6 separate regions of the Homo sapiens genome follow, and all the other regions are linked to region 5. The links are contacts of gene promoters, found by promoter capture Hi-C in blood cells and fetal thymus (Javierre and others, 2016). All regions are on one chromosome and are shown on one strand. Each heading gives the region's core, a stretch centred on a gene start or on the middle of the fragment in contact. The rest is flanking DNA. Distances are from core to core; before and after follow the strand shown.

Evidence for each region. The method cuts DNA at HindIII sites, captures the fragments that hold promoters and counts their contacts. A CHiCAGO score of 5 or more calls a contact.
Region 1: a contact is called between a fragment that was not itself captured here and the fragment with the promoter of HEY2 in region 5, in 4 of 17 cell types (megakaryocytes, erythroblasts, endothelial precursors and 1 more). The highest score is 8.1, in megakaryocytes.
Region 2: a fragment that was not itself captured here is called in contact with the fragment with the promoter of HEY2 in region 5 in 2 of 17 cell types (megakaryocytes and erythroblasts); the score reaches 12.6 in megakaryocytes.
Region 3: a fragment that was not itself captured here is called in contact with the fragment with the promoter of HEY2 in region 5 in 9 of 17 cell types (total B cells, activated CD4 T cells, non-activated CD4 T cells and 6 more); the score reaches 12.3 in total B cells.
Region 4: a contact is called between a fragment that was not itself captured here and the fragment with the promoter of HEY2 in region 5, in 4 of 17 cell types (total B cells, naive B cells, activated CD4 T cells and 1 more). The highest score is 6.5, in total B cells.
Region 6: a contact is called between a fragment that was not itself captured here and the fragment with the promoter of HEY2 in region 5, in 1 of 17 cell types (total B cells). The highest score is 5.6, in total B cells.

The regions. Positions count from the first base shown.
Region 1 is chr6:125,510,290-125,512,989 of GRCh38, reverse strand. No RefSeq gene overlaps it. Among named protein-coding and RNA genes, the nearest start is that of LINC02523, 160 kb to the left of the region's middle. The HindIII fragment of the contact is 4,089 bases long and covers 1-2,700 here.
Region 2 is chr6:125,528,395-125,531,094 of GRCh38, reverse strand. No RefSeq gene overlaps it. Among named protein-coding and RNA genes, the nearest start is that of LINC02523, 140 kb to the left of the region's middle. RefSeq lists an enhancer at 1,817-2,700. The HindIII fragment of the contact is 1,097 bases long and covers 863-1,959 here.
Region 3 is chr6:125,990,082-125,992,781 of GRCh38, reverse strand. The region is part of intron 1 of TRMT11 (tRNA methyltransferase 11); the gene reads right to left. Among named protein-coding and RNA genes, the nearest start is that of TRMT11, 4.9 kb to the right of the region's middle. The HindIII fragment of the contact is 1,548 bases long and covers 586-2,133 here.
Region 4 is chr6:125,946,128-125,948,827 of GRCh38, reverse strand. No RefSeq gene overlaps it. Among named protein-coding and RNA genes, the nearest start is that of HINT3, 9.3 kb to the left of the region's middle. RefSeq lists enhancers at 2,191-2,485, 2,136-2,630. The HindIII fragment of the contact is 2,744 bases long and covers 1-2,700 here.
Region 5 is chr6:125,748,216-125,750,915 of GRCh38, reverse strand. It overlaps HEY2 (hes related family bHLH transcription factor with YRPW motif 2), which reads right to left and starts at 1,284. Exons shown (of 5, transcript NM_012259.3): 1 at 1,057-1,284. The coding sequence starts at 1,139. It overlaps HEY2-AS1 (HEY2 antisense RNA 1), which reads left to right and starts at 1,491. Exons shown (of 5, transcript NR_183491.1): 1 at 1,491-1,957. RefSeq lists a silencer at 1,066-1,775. The HindIII fragment of the contact is 5,509 bases long and covers 1-2,700 here.
Region 6 is chr6:125,916,319-125,919,018 of GRCh38, reverse strand. The region is part of intron 11 of NCOA7 (nuclear receptor coactivator 7); the gene reads right to left. LOC124901397 (a long non-coding RNA gene) reads left to right here. Exons shown (of 2, transcript XR_007059741.1): 1 at 1-178; 2 at 488-839. Among named protein-coding and RNA genes, the nearest start is that of HINT3, 39 kb to the left of the region's middle. RefSeq lists an enhancer at 1-800. The HindIII fragment of the contact is 1,057 bases long and covers 903-1,959 here.

The sequences.
Region 1 (2,700 bases), core at 78-2,577, 240 kb after region 5:
ATTCTCTACAGATAGTGTCTCCACCTGTCTTTACTTGGGAAGACCACTCATATTACCCTCCCCTCGGAAAGCCACAGGTTTCTCCCTTCTGGGCTCTCACCTTTCTAGACAAACTGAGAGAGACTCAGATGCTACTAAACTCTGAAAGGGCAGGAGACAGTCTGGCTCCCTCTTGAGTCCCTAGCAGGCAACACAATGCCCAGTTCTAATTAGTATTCAGAAAGTAGTTGTTAATTAAATGGATACATGAATTAGTTTATATTTCACGAAAAAGAAATGACTGTTTTTTCATGCTGACAAATGTTGCCACAAATTTGGATTTTTCTGCAATTAACTAAATTCCAGATTAAATAAATTCCAGATTATCACGAAGAATACTTGGTGGAAATTGATCATCCTTGAAAATCTCTTTCTCAATGGAGAAACTCTAAGTACAAAGATGCGAAAACCAAGATATTAAGTAATGTCCATTTCTGACTTTTATTTTAGTCTTTAATACTTCAAGTCTCATATTAGGCACTTTATTCTCTAAAGAGCATTCCTTGGCAATCAGCACTAGGATTCTATCTTGGGTCATGTTCTCTAGAAGCAGAGCCTGAGGCAAGAATTTTAGTGCACATAATTTATTGAGAAAGTCCTCTCAAGAGAAAGGGAGTGAGGGAAGCAAGACAGAACAAAAGAAGGAGTAAACAGGAATACAGTATCAGTTGGAGCGCTCTTCAGCCTGATCCCATGGGAGCTCTGGAATATGAATTGAACCACAGATTTGGCATAGCCCTTTGTTGACCATGTCAGTGAGTCATTGACTGCAGGCTGACCCTGTTAGGGGTGAGTTGTGTTATCTCTCAGGTGATGTAGTTCCCATTTGGTTAAGGACAATTCTCCAGAAATGGGAGCAGCTGTAATCCATTAGCAGATGAACTTACAGTAGCTGCAGGATGAGATCACTGGCCTGGAAAACAGGAGAGTTTGGCAGGGCACCAACAGATTTATGAGAGTTTATCCCTTGTACCACTTGTACCCAGTTGTTTCTCACATGAAATCTACTCTATCCAGAAAAAGGTTTTCCAGCATCTGGTTAGCCAGGAAGGTGGAGTTTAGAGGCTGACATCAACTGGCTGAGTCATTCTGTCTACGGACATTTCATGATGAGTGAATTAAATGGGACTTATGGGCACTGTGATCCATTCATCCCTTAAAGTTTTCTGGGGGTGTATCCATTTCTGCCTTTTTACCTAGGATGTGATATTGCTTTTGATGTATTGTCTTGGAAGTTTCAGAGATATTCATTTGGATTTTCCTACTGTTTTTGTTTGTTTTCACACTACTGTAAAGAACTGCCTGCCCTGAGACTGGGTAATTTATAAAGGAAAGAGGTTAAATTGACTCACAGTTCTGCAGGGCTGGGGAGGCCTCAGGAAACTTAAAATCATGGCAGAAGGGGAAGCAGACACCTTCCTCACAAGGCTGCAGGAGAGAGAAGAGAGGAGAAGAGAAAAGAGAGGAGAAGAGAAAAGAGAGGAGAAGAGAAAGGAGAGGGGATACTGCCGCTTATAAAACCGTCAGATCTCATAAGAACTCACTATCACATAAACAGCATGGGGGCAATCCTCCCTCCACACATGGGGATTACATGTCCCTCCCATGACATGTGGGAATTACAATTCGAGATGAGATTTGGGTGGGGGCACCGAGCCAAACCATGTCACCTACTATAACACATGTTTTCTCTACTACTCAATGTGAGGGTTCTTCCAAATTTTAAGTTTGTGTATTCTGATTATAAATTTTTCTAGCCAGGAAATAACTATAGGGTGGGTTCACGGACCCTGTGGACCCACTTTGAGACGGACATATGCTAGAACTTCTGACCCGTATATAGCTTTACTCTAATGAGAGGATCCATGATGGTACTTGAGGTCCCTAGCTATTGCAGTCAACTCAGATTCCTGATTAAACATCTCACTTTTCCCAGTTTATGTTTACCCAGGTAAATGGCTATTTATCCCTTTGGAGAAAGGCTGGAGGAATCACTGCTGTATAAACTTTCCATGGTGTTTTAAGGAACTTTCTTGTAGGAACTTGACCACTACTTCAAGCAATAGGTTATGGAACTGAGGACAAGCTAAGCCTGTAAACTGGGCAAGGAATCCTGACTTTCCATTGAGGTGGCTGACCTTAGTATTCTGATCATCTTTTTTTAAATATATTTGGATTGATTATATATATTAAGCAAAACACTTATTGCTTGCCCATTGATCTCGCCCTACAATCAACATATTCTACTAGCCATCTCCTTAAATCCCTACTGATCAGAGCCTGCTACGTGCTGTGCATTTTGATAATCATGCCCACCTTGCTTCTGATGGTCAAGTGCTGCCATCTGTCCTCTGCTATTTTGAGATCTTACTATTTCCATTACTGTCAGGGAGCACAGATCTATAACAGAATCAATAATGATCATCAGTACTGATCTACAAAGGACAGACACCACTGAGCTTCTTAATAAAGTTGGTGCCCCCCTCACCTAGAAGAAGTTGTCATTTTGTCAAAGGAAATTCTCTAGGGAAGGGGGCAGCCATGAGCCTTTAGCAACCAACATTCTCAGCACCAGGCTGAAGAAGAAATCTTGATAGGGCAGTAATGGCCTTCACTTCAGGGTCCTTTCTTTCTGCACCAATGCCCCCTACATGGCTTTGT
Region 2 (2,700 bases), core at 162-2,661, 220 kb after region 5:
TGTTTTCTTTAGGGCTTCACTATTATCCACAGTGCTTCTAATTTGATATTTGACTTCAAGTGGATTTCAATTAAAGTAAATCAAACCTGGAATGGTACGCCTTGTGAGAGTGAACTTCCTCAGTGGATGTTTACGCAGATGCTGGATGCTGAAGATGCTGAAGGGAGCATGGGTTGGGATTTTGACCTATATAGCTGATAGAATCTTTTCCAATTCCTGAGATTTTATTCTAAACATCTAAGTTGACACAATCATCTCTATCTTTTGCTTTTATTGTCTATTCCATTTGTATGAGATATTTGGTATTTTACTTAATTTTGTGCTGTTTGCTCCTTTTCTATTTATTCAGCTGCATACTTGATTTTAAAACCACTCGAGAATTGGGAATGCCTATAGGCAACTGTCACAAAGAGCCGCTGCCAAGACCGCTCAGTGGTGGAAGAGCCTCTCTAGAGGAAAAATGAGCAATTTCGGAGTGAAAAAAGGAATATGAATCTTAGACTCTAGCCAGGAAAATTGATGAAAGAGGGCATCGTGGGAAACCGAAAGATCCTAAGAATAATTTATATTGCAAATTCAGAAGCAAAAATCTAAAATGGTGCAATTTGTAAAGACAATCAAGTGTTTTCTCAAGGAAAATAGAGGAGGCCCATCTCAATCTGTGATTGCTGGGATGCACTTGTCCAATACTGCCTATTTCATGACAAAAAATGGATAGGACTCTAAATTGCCTAGCAGGGTTGTTCTACGTCTGTGTCTGCTTCTCCTCACTGTATGTATTTGAACAGAGTTTTATATTTGTCTTGGGTAAGTTAAGTTTGTGAATATGACCCTCCTTTAATTCTCTAGAGGCCTCCAAGCTTACATGTCTTCGGAAACTGGGTCCCTGGGTTATTGAGCAAATACTCAACAACCTGCTCTTCTGTTCCAAGAGTGGAAGGAGAAGCAGTCATGGCCAGTTGTTGAATGTCTTTCTTCACTAATTCTGGAAAGACTTGGGGATAGTAAGGAGCTCCAAATAAAGTTTTTAGATAAATGATAGAGATTAGATAGAAAAACTTGGTACCTAAACTATGGAACTACAAAATTTTAGAACCAGGGGATAAACCTCAGAGATGATCTTGTTCACAGATTCTCAACCCTGACAGTACATTAGAATCATCTTGGTTGCTTTAAAAATCAGTACCAATACTGAGACTCTACCCCCAGAACAATTAATTTCCTTAAATTGGGCTCAGGAAATAGCCTTCTTTTTCTAATGAAGAAGATGAAGTCTGAAGGTTTCTTTAACTGCACCAGGTTCCAGAACTAGTGGTGGCAGCAGGAGGCCAGCACCAGTCTCAGGGCAGTGAAAACACTTTTTAAAGTTGTATTTCCAGAAGACATTTTTAAAAATTGTATTTCTCTATTCCATTTTTATTCAGTTCTACATAGAAACAGCGATCCTCCATCTCTTCACTCCATTTTTTTTTAACCTCTGCATTTACCAAACACCAGCTACATCTCTGAAGGAATTCTCTCTAAAAATAACTTGGACTGTGCAGATCGTTTTGTTTATTTAAGGAGCCCCTTATCAGGGACGGGACACTTGGAGGAAACTGAGAGTGTGTGGGGTTTATATGAAGCTCCCTACATTCACGCACACGCATCTTGAAATTGACCAGACAGACGGGTTCCAAAGAATGAGAATCCTGACTGGAATGGATTAAACACGGAGGAAGAAATTCTTGTCTTCTTCCCTCTCTCTTAATTCTGATCTGTAAGCTACGCTTTAGGTAAATGGGTCACATGAGAGGCTCCCAGGTGGCCTGGCCAACCTTAGGAGGAGTCTCTTGTGGCCCTCTGACCTGAGGACAGTGTTTTCCCTTACAGAAAGGAAATGAGCCTCTAAGACTGAAAAGGGGGCATTGTCATGGGAAGATGTTTGCCTCTTACAACCCAGAGCAGAAACTCAAAGCTTTTAGTCTTCACTCTTTCCTTCCCCACCACATTTCTTTTAAAAAGCAACAAATTCTAGCTGGTTATCACTTATGCTCCACCCCATTCTTGTATGTCAGCTTTTGTGCAGGAAAATAGAGAACTGTTTTCATTGCCTTATCAGAGTCCCAGGAAAGGGGAAAGGAGCGTCTGGCCCGCTATCTATGTCTTGCCTGGGGACAATGAAATGCTGAGAGCAGGCTCCAGGGGCGAGGGGCTGCCACTTCAGACCCACAGTGTCTGCAAGGACCAGGGAAGGAGGGGAGGGAGGAGGGACTCTCCTTAGCCTGCCGAAAGCATAATAGCCCCTGGGGTGGGCTGCTGCAAACAGGAAGGGTGTGGGCGGGATCTGAGCACAGCTGCTCCTGCCGCCCATTCCCACAGCCTTTGATCAGCAGGCAAATGGCATTTTGTGCCCTGAGATAAATGCCTGGTCAGAGGGTGTGGGTGTCTGTGGAGGGGGATAAGGATTAAAGATGAAGGTATTTTATAGCCTGCCTTAAGGATGTGTGTTTCCAACCTAGGATCAGGGAGGTGCTAGGTACAAAGGAACGGAAAGGTTTCCCATGAATGCATTCATTCATTCATCAAACATTTGTTCTGTACCCAGTAAATTCAGGGCACTGTGTTGGACACAGTAGGGGATGCAATGGTAAATAATACATGTACTGTTCTAGCCTAGTATGGTGAATCTGAAGCATGAGAAGGTTATTTGGGATGTCA
Region 3 (2,700 bases), core at 110-2,609, 240 kb before region 5:
GTTATTTTGCAGCAAGGAAAACACAAATCTGAATAGGAGACATCATGAGACTTAGAAATTAAATAGACCATAATCTGATTTTCAGCTCTTCCAAATACTAGCGATGTGGCTTTATACAAGAATCTTAAATCCTCCAACTTTTAGTTCCCTCAAATGTGAAACAGGAATCATAGCTACCTCATCAGGTTAGGTGAACTATAAAGAGAGAAGCATAGAACCTAGGTGGTTATTAAGGGAATCAAAATGATGAGGACCCTGATAACTGTCCTAGAAGTCCAGTGGCTCAAGAAGTCAACCAAGACTGATAGAGTTATAGCACTTAAAAGAAAAAAAATAAAGTTATAGATTAAATTACTTCATCTTGCATGATTGTTGTTTGTTCTATATTAAAGCATATTGTAAAGTCAGTTTTACATTTAAAACATCCAACTATAACCAAGTTAAAACACCAAAGTTTGCTGCTCCTGGAATATACTGTTAAAAAGCTGCAACAAGCTAAAACACAAAGATCCTAAGAGTTAGGTGGGGAAAAAAAGTGAAAGATTAAAGTTTTATGGCATAGCATTATCTCTACTACCCAAAGCTTAAGCAGCCACCTAAAACTGAGAATAAATATGATAACCCAAGTTTCAAATTGAAAAGCAAAACATGTTTAAACCACTTCATCAATCTACTTGGAAAAAGCAAAACACAAAATGTTCATTAATCTTATGGCAAATTCAACTTTCCAGTTGAGACTCTTTCTATATTAGGAATAAAAAATAATTTATATTGAACATTGGATATAAAAATGTAGCATGATCTGGGGCATGTGTGATGCGTTAATTCCATGAGCTTTTCTATTATTTCAGCTACTTGCTTTTTCATCCATTTAAAAGGTTGCTTCAGGACAAGCAATAAAACCCAGGAGTTTGAACTTTAGTAAACACTATTTAGTACAATAAGTACTACATTAAGTAGCTGCCAACTATACTTAGCCCTGATTAACTCTATCAGAGGTAAAACTGGACCACACTTATATTCCTGATCTCTCATTTTAATTCATAAAGGCAGCCATTCATTATAGCTTCCTTGCTTATCAGTTCTAATGCAGTAGCTGGGCCCAAAAGGATAGACTGTCCTTTGCATTGCCTTTCCCAGAAGAGATTCTATATCACTGATTTTAATATTTTAAGCAGCCAGGTATGGCGGCTCCACCTGCAATCCCAGCACTTTGGGAGGCCGAGGCAAAGAGATAACTTGAGACCGGGAGTCTGAGACCAACCCTGGCAACACAGTGAGAGCTCCCAAGACCCCCTCCCGCCCCCTCACACCAACACTCAGCCTCTGATTAACACCCGGCTCCACAAAAATAAAAATAAAAAAATTAGCCAGACATAGTGGTGCACCTGTAGTCCCAGCTACTCAGGAAGCTAAGGTGGGAGGATGGCTTAACTTGGGTCTTTGAGGCTGCAGTGAGCCACGGTCACGCCACTGCACTGTAGCCTGGAAAACAGAGAGAGAACAGTCTCCAAAAAAAATTTTTTTTTTTTTTTTGAGATGGAGTCTCACACTGTCACCCGGGCTGGAGTGCGATGGTGTGATCTCGGCTCACTGCAACCTCCACCTCCCAGGTTCATGCGATTCTCCTGCCTCAGCCTCTTGGGTAGCTGAGATTACAGGCGCACACCACCACATCTGGCTAATTTTTTGTATTTTTAGTAGAGATGGGGTTTCACTATGTTGGCCAGACTGGTCTCGAACTCCTGACCTTGTGATCCGCCCGCCTCAGCCTCCCAAAGTACTGGAATTACAGGAGTGAGCCACTGCGCCCGGACCCCCAAAAAAATTTTTAAGCAACTAATATGTGCAAGTCCCTGATCTATGTAAAAATACACACACATTTATCTTAGGGAAATTATGGTCTAGTAGAACCAACAAAACCACCTCACAACTGAAATGTAAAGTGTAAAAAACAGTACATGTTCTTAAACAGGTAAAAGCAAAAAAGTATTAGAGTACAAGAGAGTAAAAGATTACTTCAGTTTGAGAAGTAAAGTTTCATGGAAACTGCCTCAATCCCTGAAAAAAATCTAACCCAATGACAGGAATTCAACTTCCAGGTATGGCAAAAGAGGTAATTCAGATTAAGCTTCTTGCTGAAAAGAACTAGAAAAGCTGGCCATCTAATTGAAGGCATAGAAAGATAACAAAAATTACCAAACCAACATCCAGGAGAGGACAAAAATTCCAAGGTGGAGCCACTTTTTCCCTGAGACATTTACAAATCCAAAAACAGCTGCAAGAGTGAACAGCCCTTCTGAGTGCCCGATAGAAAGGGAAAAAAAGAGAAAGGGCCCCCCAGAGGAGAAAAGGATACTTGATGAACCACCTAATTTACACTAGGATGTCAAAAAGCTACACTCTGTGAGTACCTGGGAATCAGAACACAAACAGGGCTTAACACCTGAAAATGAGTTAAACCCAACCTAGATTCCTCATGCTCCTATGCGTTCCTATCTTCTTGAAGAGGATGTACATCATCCCAGCCCTCAAATTATTTTTTCAAATAAATTTTCAAATACAACATCTGGCATATATTTTAAAAATAGCCCACTATATGAAACAGAACAAAAAGAAACAATAGAAACAGACCCACAGGATCCCTTTTATCATATACTTTAACATAACTACGCTTTCTACATTGAAGGGGATTCAAGA
Region 4 (2,700 bases), core at 89-2,588, 200 kb before region 5:
ACAAATAATGAGACGTGAATGAGAAAAAGTGTCCTATGACACAGGAGAACAAGGAGAGAATGGTGTCCTGAAGGCAAAGCAAAGAGTGTTTCAAATAGGAAGGCGTGATCAACTATGCCAAAGGCCAGTAATAGCATGAGAAAGAGGAAGACTCAGAATTGACCTAAGGTCATTGGAAAAGCTGATAAAAGCAGTTTTAGTGTTAGAGGTGGGAAGAAAGGCTGATTCCTGTTGGTTTAAGAGAGAATGATAAAAAAGGAATTTAAGTCAGTAAGTTAATAACCAAAGAGATTATTCATAGGAAAAAAGAGAAGTTATGTAAAAAATATCAGAGACTATGAGCTACACTGATAAAGGCCAGAAGAGGTAGAGATACCGGAGTGGCTGAGCAAAGTGACTGTTACCAACTCAAAGTAAATAAATTTCTTTCATGTTAAGTTGCTCAGGTGTCTCCATTCCTTGAAACCTCAGGAAACTCAACTAACTTACCATTCTTTCCCCACCAGCTTTCTAACTCTACCTCTATCACATTTTAAAAATTTTATACACTTGCTTCAGTTTGCAAGCTGTGTATCCTGGTATGTTAAATGGATTGTTAAATTATTCCATTATTATATGCTGTTTAAATCCTATACATAGGATGATGCTTTCTAGATGTTCCTGTCAGCTCCCAATACTTATTTGAATGTAAATTCCCTGTGGGTGGGACGTGGTCTTGTTTATCAAAACATCCAGCCTGGTATCTGGCACACAGTAGGCTGTGGAAAAACATTAATTGTGGGAATGGATAGATGGATTGTACATATTTAAAAATGTACAGTGAAATCTGATTTTCTCAATGGCATCACTAATGGCATAGCTACTGGTATTGTCCTTTCAAATTCAACTTTTCTTTTTGTGGGTTTTTATTTCTCTCCGTGATGCTAAATGCATAATACTCTTTTTATTGCTGCTTCAAATACCAGTTAATATCAGTATTCTGGGTGGAGCTGTTCCTGGCAGGCTGTCATGAACCTAAGAGGCTGCCTTGGCACAGAGGCCCAACCTAACTGATGACCAATCCTTTCTCAAGAGCATTCCAGGGCATCTTCTCTCAGCAGGAAACTGCTGGCTGGGCCGTACCCTTAGAAAGGGATAGTGGACCCTTCTAGTACAAGAAATTAGCTCATAAAGACAGTTGTGACAACTGGCCACCATTTCAGGGGGCAAAAAAAATTATATCTCTTCTTTATACCATGCACTCAGATATACTTCTGTTGAAATTAACTATTTAAATGCAACAACTGAAACCAAAGAACTGTTACGGGTTTCTTTAAGATGTGGGTGAATATTTACTTTGCCTTGGGGGTGGCAAGGAAAGGGCCTAAGTGCTCAAAATGGATTCCATTAAATAAATTACTGATTGATGTAAAATAAGATTTTTTAAAGTATGTAAAAGTGCCAAAAACTGCATTGAAAGAAAAGTGGAAATTTGAGTGAAAATATTTGCATCATGCGTGAAAAATAGTATTAATAAACTTATCTAGGAAGAGTTCTTACAAAACAATGAGAAAGAATTGAGGCCAGCACAGTGGCTCACACCTGCAATCCCAGCACTTTGGGAGGTCGAGGCAGGTGGATCACTTGAAGCCAGTAGTTTGAGACCAGCCTGGGCAACATGGTGAAATCCTATCTGTACTAAAAATACAAAAATTAGCTGGACATGGTGGTGCACGCCTATAGTCCCAATTACTCAGGTAGCTGAGGCAGGAGAATCGCGTGAACCCACAAGGCAGAGGCTGCACTGAGCTGAGATCATGCCACTGCACTCCAGCCTGGGCTACAGGGCAAGATCCTATCTCAAAAAAAAAAAAAAAAAAAAAAAAAAAAAAAAACAGTTGAAAACCCTAGCAGAAAAATAAGCAGCTTTTATGAAAGTAATTAATTAAAAGAAAAAGTACCATTTAAAAATGTGAAGAAAATATTCATCCTTACTAGAAATTGAAGAAGTCTACGTTAAATAACAGTGAAATAAGCCTTTCCCCAATTAAATTGGCAAAGATTCCTTTATGCAATAGCATTTGTATTGCGAGGGCACAGGAAAATAAACACTCTCCTACACAACTGACATGATGCACTCTACATTTCTGATAACGTAAAGAAAGAGTTTCAGGAGGGAGGATAGGAGACCATTTATGGGAATTACAGAGCTCTATGAGGGTTAGAGAGCTGGAAATAAGGGGTGCCCTGGGACTCTGATGCTTCCCGTGTAATTCACATGAGCAAGGATAAAGGGCGTAATGGGAAAATTGAAGCTCTCAGAAGAGAACTTCAACTGACTCCCTCCAAAATGATGACTCATATACTTGGCCTTCCTGACTGATACCAAAGATAAACAGTCTGTGCTCATATCAAAACTAATTCCTCCACTTACATGCTAGATCCCATTCCTTCTTGCTCACGCAAGAACACCACTTCAGAAATTCCCCTTATGTCTTACATCATGTATTTTATTATCTTTACTGGATCATTCTATCCACTTACAAACATGCTATAATTTCTTCCACTCTAGAAAAATGAAATGAAACTTTCTTTTGAGCCTACTTTTCCCACCAGGACCTGTCCCATGTATTTGTTGCTCTTAGCAGGAAATCTTGAAATAAGTGTCCATACTAGCTCTCTCCAATTTCTTTCCTCCCGTTCTCTTGTAAACCTTCTCTT
Region 5 (2,700 bases), core at 35-2,534:
TTATTTGTTCTCTTTCATTTTAGAAATGCTGCACACACCAGGTTGCTATTACCTCACCTTCTCACTTCTGGATCTTATTTCTGAATTACCTGTCCCCCTCATTTTCACCCCTTCTTTACGGGTTTCACCTTTCACGTGATAGCTTCTGTTTTTCAGACCTCATTTTTAAAGACGGCACAACAACACTTTAATGATCAGATACTTAAACCTTTGCTTTCGTGTAAATATCTTTGCTCTTGCAGATTTTGTGCTTTGCTTTGTATGTATTAGAATAACAATATGAAAGAAAACCAGTTTTCCAAAGGTAGGAAGAATTTCCCTCTTTGAGTGACAGCTGCAGATAAATAATTAAGGTGCTTCTGGGGATGCCAATTAGAAGCAATTATCATTTGACCCGCCTTGGCTCTAAAATGCCTCGGTAATCTCCCTCTGTCACAGGAAAGTGGAGGTCTGGCTTCTGTGATTACGACGCCGATCTCTTCCAGACTTGAGAACAAGCAGTCAAAGAAATGATGCCCTTTCCGATGCTTACATCTGTCACTCACTCTTGCGTTAGCCAAGTCACACACGGTCAACCTGCAAAGTTCAACCTACGTAGCCTTGACATCGCAGGTTGCTTTAATTCCTCCAAAAATCAAGTTGTGATTTTGGTATCTCTAAAAATCAAAAATCAAATTGTTTTTATTTTCTCCTGATCTATTTTGAAAGTGCCCCCAAATACGGTTTCAGTGGCTGGGACATCGCCTGTCGCCCAGACGCTGCCGTTCGCGCGTCCAACTGTGACAGCCAGGACCCTCCCTCGCCAACTCCTGCGCTCTGCCTTTCAGTGGCGTCTCCCATCCTGGCTACTCCACCCCTACGGTGAAAATCCACATCCCTTGCCCCATCCCAACTCACGCTCTGCGAGCGCCCACCACTCAAACTTTCTCAGGCCAAACTTTCCCTCTCTACCTAGATGCTGCGGAGACCAGCCTCGGGATTTCCAGGGAGCCACGCATTCACAAAGCTACCCCAAGCTCCCGAGCTGCGGGCCGCTCCCGCGGAGCCCGCGCTCACCCCGAGTAATTGTTCTCGCTCCCCACGTCGATGGTCTCGTCCATGTCGCTCTCGGAGGTCGTCTCCTCGCAGGGGCGCTTCATCCCGGCGAAGACCGCGCGGGGCACAGCCCGGCCGGAAGCTCGGACGCCGAGCGGGGCGCAGCACCCTGACGCCCGCCTCCTCCCTCCCCGGGCCTGGGCAGGCGCGGCTCCGGCGGCGGCGCGGTCTGCTCCTAGCGGCTCTTTCCCACGCCGCAACTCTGCTCGGCCGCAAGAGCCGGCGCCGGCCACGCCCCCCCCTCGAGCGGGTGGGGCCACCTCACCCGCCCCCGCGCACCGGCCCAGGCCTTCCGCCCGGCACCTCCCCCTCGCTGGTCGGCGTGGCTCGCGATTGGCTGGGCCAGGGGGCGGGGCCGCGCTCGCCAATGCCCGCCGCAAGGCTCCAGCCGAGGCGTGGGAACGCGGCCGCGGACCTGGTACCCCAGAGCAGCGAGCGGGTGGGGAGCAGCCGGGGCGAGAATGAGCGCAATCTTGCTAACCCCTGCGGAGGGAGCGCGCGGGCGCCAACGCGGGCGCGCGGGGGCGGGCCCTGGACCTGGACCTTGGGTTTCGGCCCTCCTCCGCGCCCCGCGGTCTCGCGGGCGAAGTTTCAGTCCTGAGTGTAAAGAATAACCCCAAGCGCGTGGCTAAGTGCGAGCAGGCGCGTGTGACGTCGGGAGGCGCCGCGGCTCCTCGGCCGCCCCACTCGGTGGTCCCCTGTCTGGATCCAAACTGCTGACTGGCTGACCCGAGTGGTCACATTTGCCCTCTGGGGCTTTTGAAAACCTTAAATCAAAATTGCTTTTGAATCTGACAACTCCTGAGGCTACTTTCGCGGCCTCGGGGCTGTTTCATATAAGGACGCGAGTTTTCCTGATCAGGTCTGTCGGCCACGTTACGATTTCCAATTTGCGATCCATCAGTTACTTCCATTGGGTCTTCAGCCCCCAGGGACTGTGGATCCTAGACCCCGCGGAGAAGCCCGTGGACTGGAGCTGTGTCAGCTCTGATGGTAGGAAAGACTAGATCAATGACGCGGGCATTTCAGGACATAATCGTATATTTTCAAGTTCGAGTTTTTCGGGCTTGGATTATCCAGATAATTGCCTCCAGTCTCCTCCAGTCCCCCTGGTGTATGCACTCGCAGCCGCAGAGTTAGAGTCCGGGAGGTGAAGATTGGCGCTTGGAAATTAGATTTGGTTTCTAAAGTATGAATTCGTGTCCAACAGTTCGTGCCTTGGACAACGTGGGTTGTATAAAACTCAAGCTGTGTGTTTAAAACAGGTTTTCTAGCTGCTGGTTCTCTCCAAGTTATGTAGGACTTTTGAACTGGCCACCCCGCTGTGCGTCTGCGAGGGCAGGGACTGAGCGAGACCCAGCCAGGGGCGCCGGGAGACTGGCGGCGGCTGGGTTGGGGTCCAGCCGGAAACCACACGTTGGCAGGGCCGCTTGGTCAGTAGTGGAGAGAGCCTCTGAGAAAGGGCCGTCTATCGATCCCCAGACCCCTCCGTCACGGAGGGATTCATAGCTTCCTGGGGATCGGCCCAGGGCGTCCCTTTGACACTCCGTTCTCTGTCCACACAAGCCCGGCGCGGGGCGGGGAGAAGAGGAAAGGACGCGACTG
Region 6 (2,700 bases), core at 182-2,681, 170 kb before region 5:
CGTCCCTCCAGTGAACCTAGCTTTTCTAGCCCTGCCTTTTCAGAGTTTTTTTTCTTTTTTTTTTCTCCCCCGCCCCCAGCACCTTCTTTAAGGCTAAAGCTCCATTTAAAATGGTACGTGTGATCCCTGGTATAAGCTTGAATCTCAAAGGAAGGATGAAAAGGAGCCTTCGGTGGAGGTAGGCTTCATTACAGTTAGAACAAACGGCATTTCACTTCAATACTATGTCATGTTTGTTGGTGGGAGGGACTTAAAAGAATGGGAAAACATCTGGTTTACATGAGGTTGTGAAAGATGTCATCTTACATGTAGTTTTATAAAACAGTTGGCAGAGTAATACTTATCTTTTTACATTTTGGAATTAGTTTTAATGACTAATAAGCAGGATGAGTCCTCCTCTACACTTCAGATCACATGTCAGGAGGTTAGAAAGAAATACAGATCAGCACTGGATCAATTTTCAGTGATATTTCTGTGATTCTTCCAGATCCGAAGTGGCCTTTCAGTCTTGGGCACAGCTGCGGGGATCAGAGTGTATTGTATTGCTCACACTGGGGGTTATAAAGAAGACTCTAGCAGATACTTAGAGACCAGTCCACGGCCAGCAGAACTGACTCTCAATGCAACAGCCTGAGCACAACCTGGGACAGAATGCCAGCAAGACAACACTCTCCTCTGGGCCCCTGGGACTCCAGGACAGCGGACATTTATTATTTCCTATATGATGGTGGGTGCCAGGTGCTTTGCCAGGCACAGAGACATAAAGCTGCTCACAGTCTCCAGCAGGTGAGGAGACAGTAGAGAAACAATTCTAAATAAATGGGTGCCATTCCATGTGATTGTAAAAGGAAAATAAAATCTTGGGATCACAAACTCACTACAAAAAAAGGGAAAATTAAGCTTTGAAACTGAGCCACACAAACAAAAACCATCTTTCCTTTTGTTTCTAAACAGCTGTCTCCCCAGGTGGTCTCCCTCACCTGGACAATGTAAATTAACAGCTTATTTTCACAAGTCGGAAACAAGAGCAGACTAGAAATTGACCTTACTGCTCACCTCCAGACCAATGCATACTGGACTTCTTCCACGACTCTGTTTACTTCATCTTATGTAAAGTGCAGATTTACTGCGCACAAGGCATACATGATTGAGGGTTCCTCTACCCTCTCCTTTGCACATGCAACATTTGGATTCAGTGCACACTAATCAAAGACTCACAAGAAAGTAACCGTTTGTCTCATTTTTTCTACCCTCCTCTTTTCTCCTTCCTCTCCAGCCCACTTTTCCCCCTTTAAATACTGAAGCCCTCAAAACCCTCTTTGGAAAAAGTGCAGGACACAGATCCTACTGTGGCTTGTGTCTCTTTTTCCCTCCCTAACCAGATGCATCCTCAACCTTAGCAAAATAAACCTCTAAATTGATTGAGATCTGTCTCAGGCATTGTTTTTGGTTTATAGGATACAGATGCCAAAATCTACAGCAGACACTCAAAGGAGGTTGGGGTGACCTGGGGGGTTCTGAGATAGCTTATTCACAGAGGAGATGGTGCTTCAGTTTGAGAGCAAGGATAGGGTGTGAGAAGATGTTCCAGGGACAGGGCACAGCAGGAATGCAGAGATGGATTCTGGGTTCACATTGGCTGGAGAAGAGACAGCAAGGAAAGCAGTGATGAGGAAGGTAGATGAGACAGAAAAGGTAGGAGGAGCAGAGAAAAAGAAGAGCCCTGATGCCACGAAGGAGCTTAAAACTTACCCTACAGGTCAGTGTTTCCAAAACATAACTGTTTGGAAATCATCTGGGAGCTTTGAAAAATACAGATTCTAACATTCCTCCCTCCAGACCTACTGAATTAATGTCTCTAGTAATAAGGATCTAGGATTCAGTTTTTTAAAATTCCCAGGTAGTTATTCTAACAGGTGGGTAAGAATCAGCAGAGTCAATAAGGAGGCCACTGAAGCTTTTAAGCACAGAGTATCCAAGCTTGCTTGTATATTTAAATGACAAGTTATACAGCCCCACAGTCCATATGTAAGATCTTTCAACATGATGAAGGAAACATTGGAAATCATTAAATAGTGCTGGAAAAAAATTGACTATTAAAAATATCATCTACCATACATCAAAAAAGCAACTACAGATTGAGTGAAGAGTTTAAATTAGTATTGCAGGGCCACTTATACATGGACACAGATGAATTCAGAACCATGTATTTGTAATGGCACCATTCTCCCTGGTGGACAGGTTCTCTCCAGCAATGCTTGGCTGCCTAGGAGCAGAAAAGTGTGAGGGTGGGTTCATCCAGGATTGCACGCAGGCTAGATGGGTGCAGTAGATGGGAGAGGGGTGGAGGAACTCAGGAGTCCTGGTAAGGATGTGTTTGAATTCATTTACCATCTGTCTAAGCTGGGAAAGAAGAAATGCTAAGTGGGGTTCAAGAGAGCAGCAGAACAGGAAGGAGGGGTAGACCTATTTTTCCTAGTCTCATCTCCCAATTTCCCAGTGCTGCAAGCTTGTTAAGTATTGAGAGCCTATGTTATCCATCATTGTATTTCCAGGGCCCTCGCCTAAAGAAGTACTTGATACATGCTTGCCTGACTGGATGAAGGGAACTGAGGTCTGGCAAACTACAGCTTGTGTATTAGTCCGTTTTCACACTGCTATAAAGATGCTACCTGAAACTGAGTAATTTACAAACAAAAG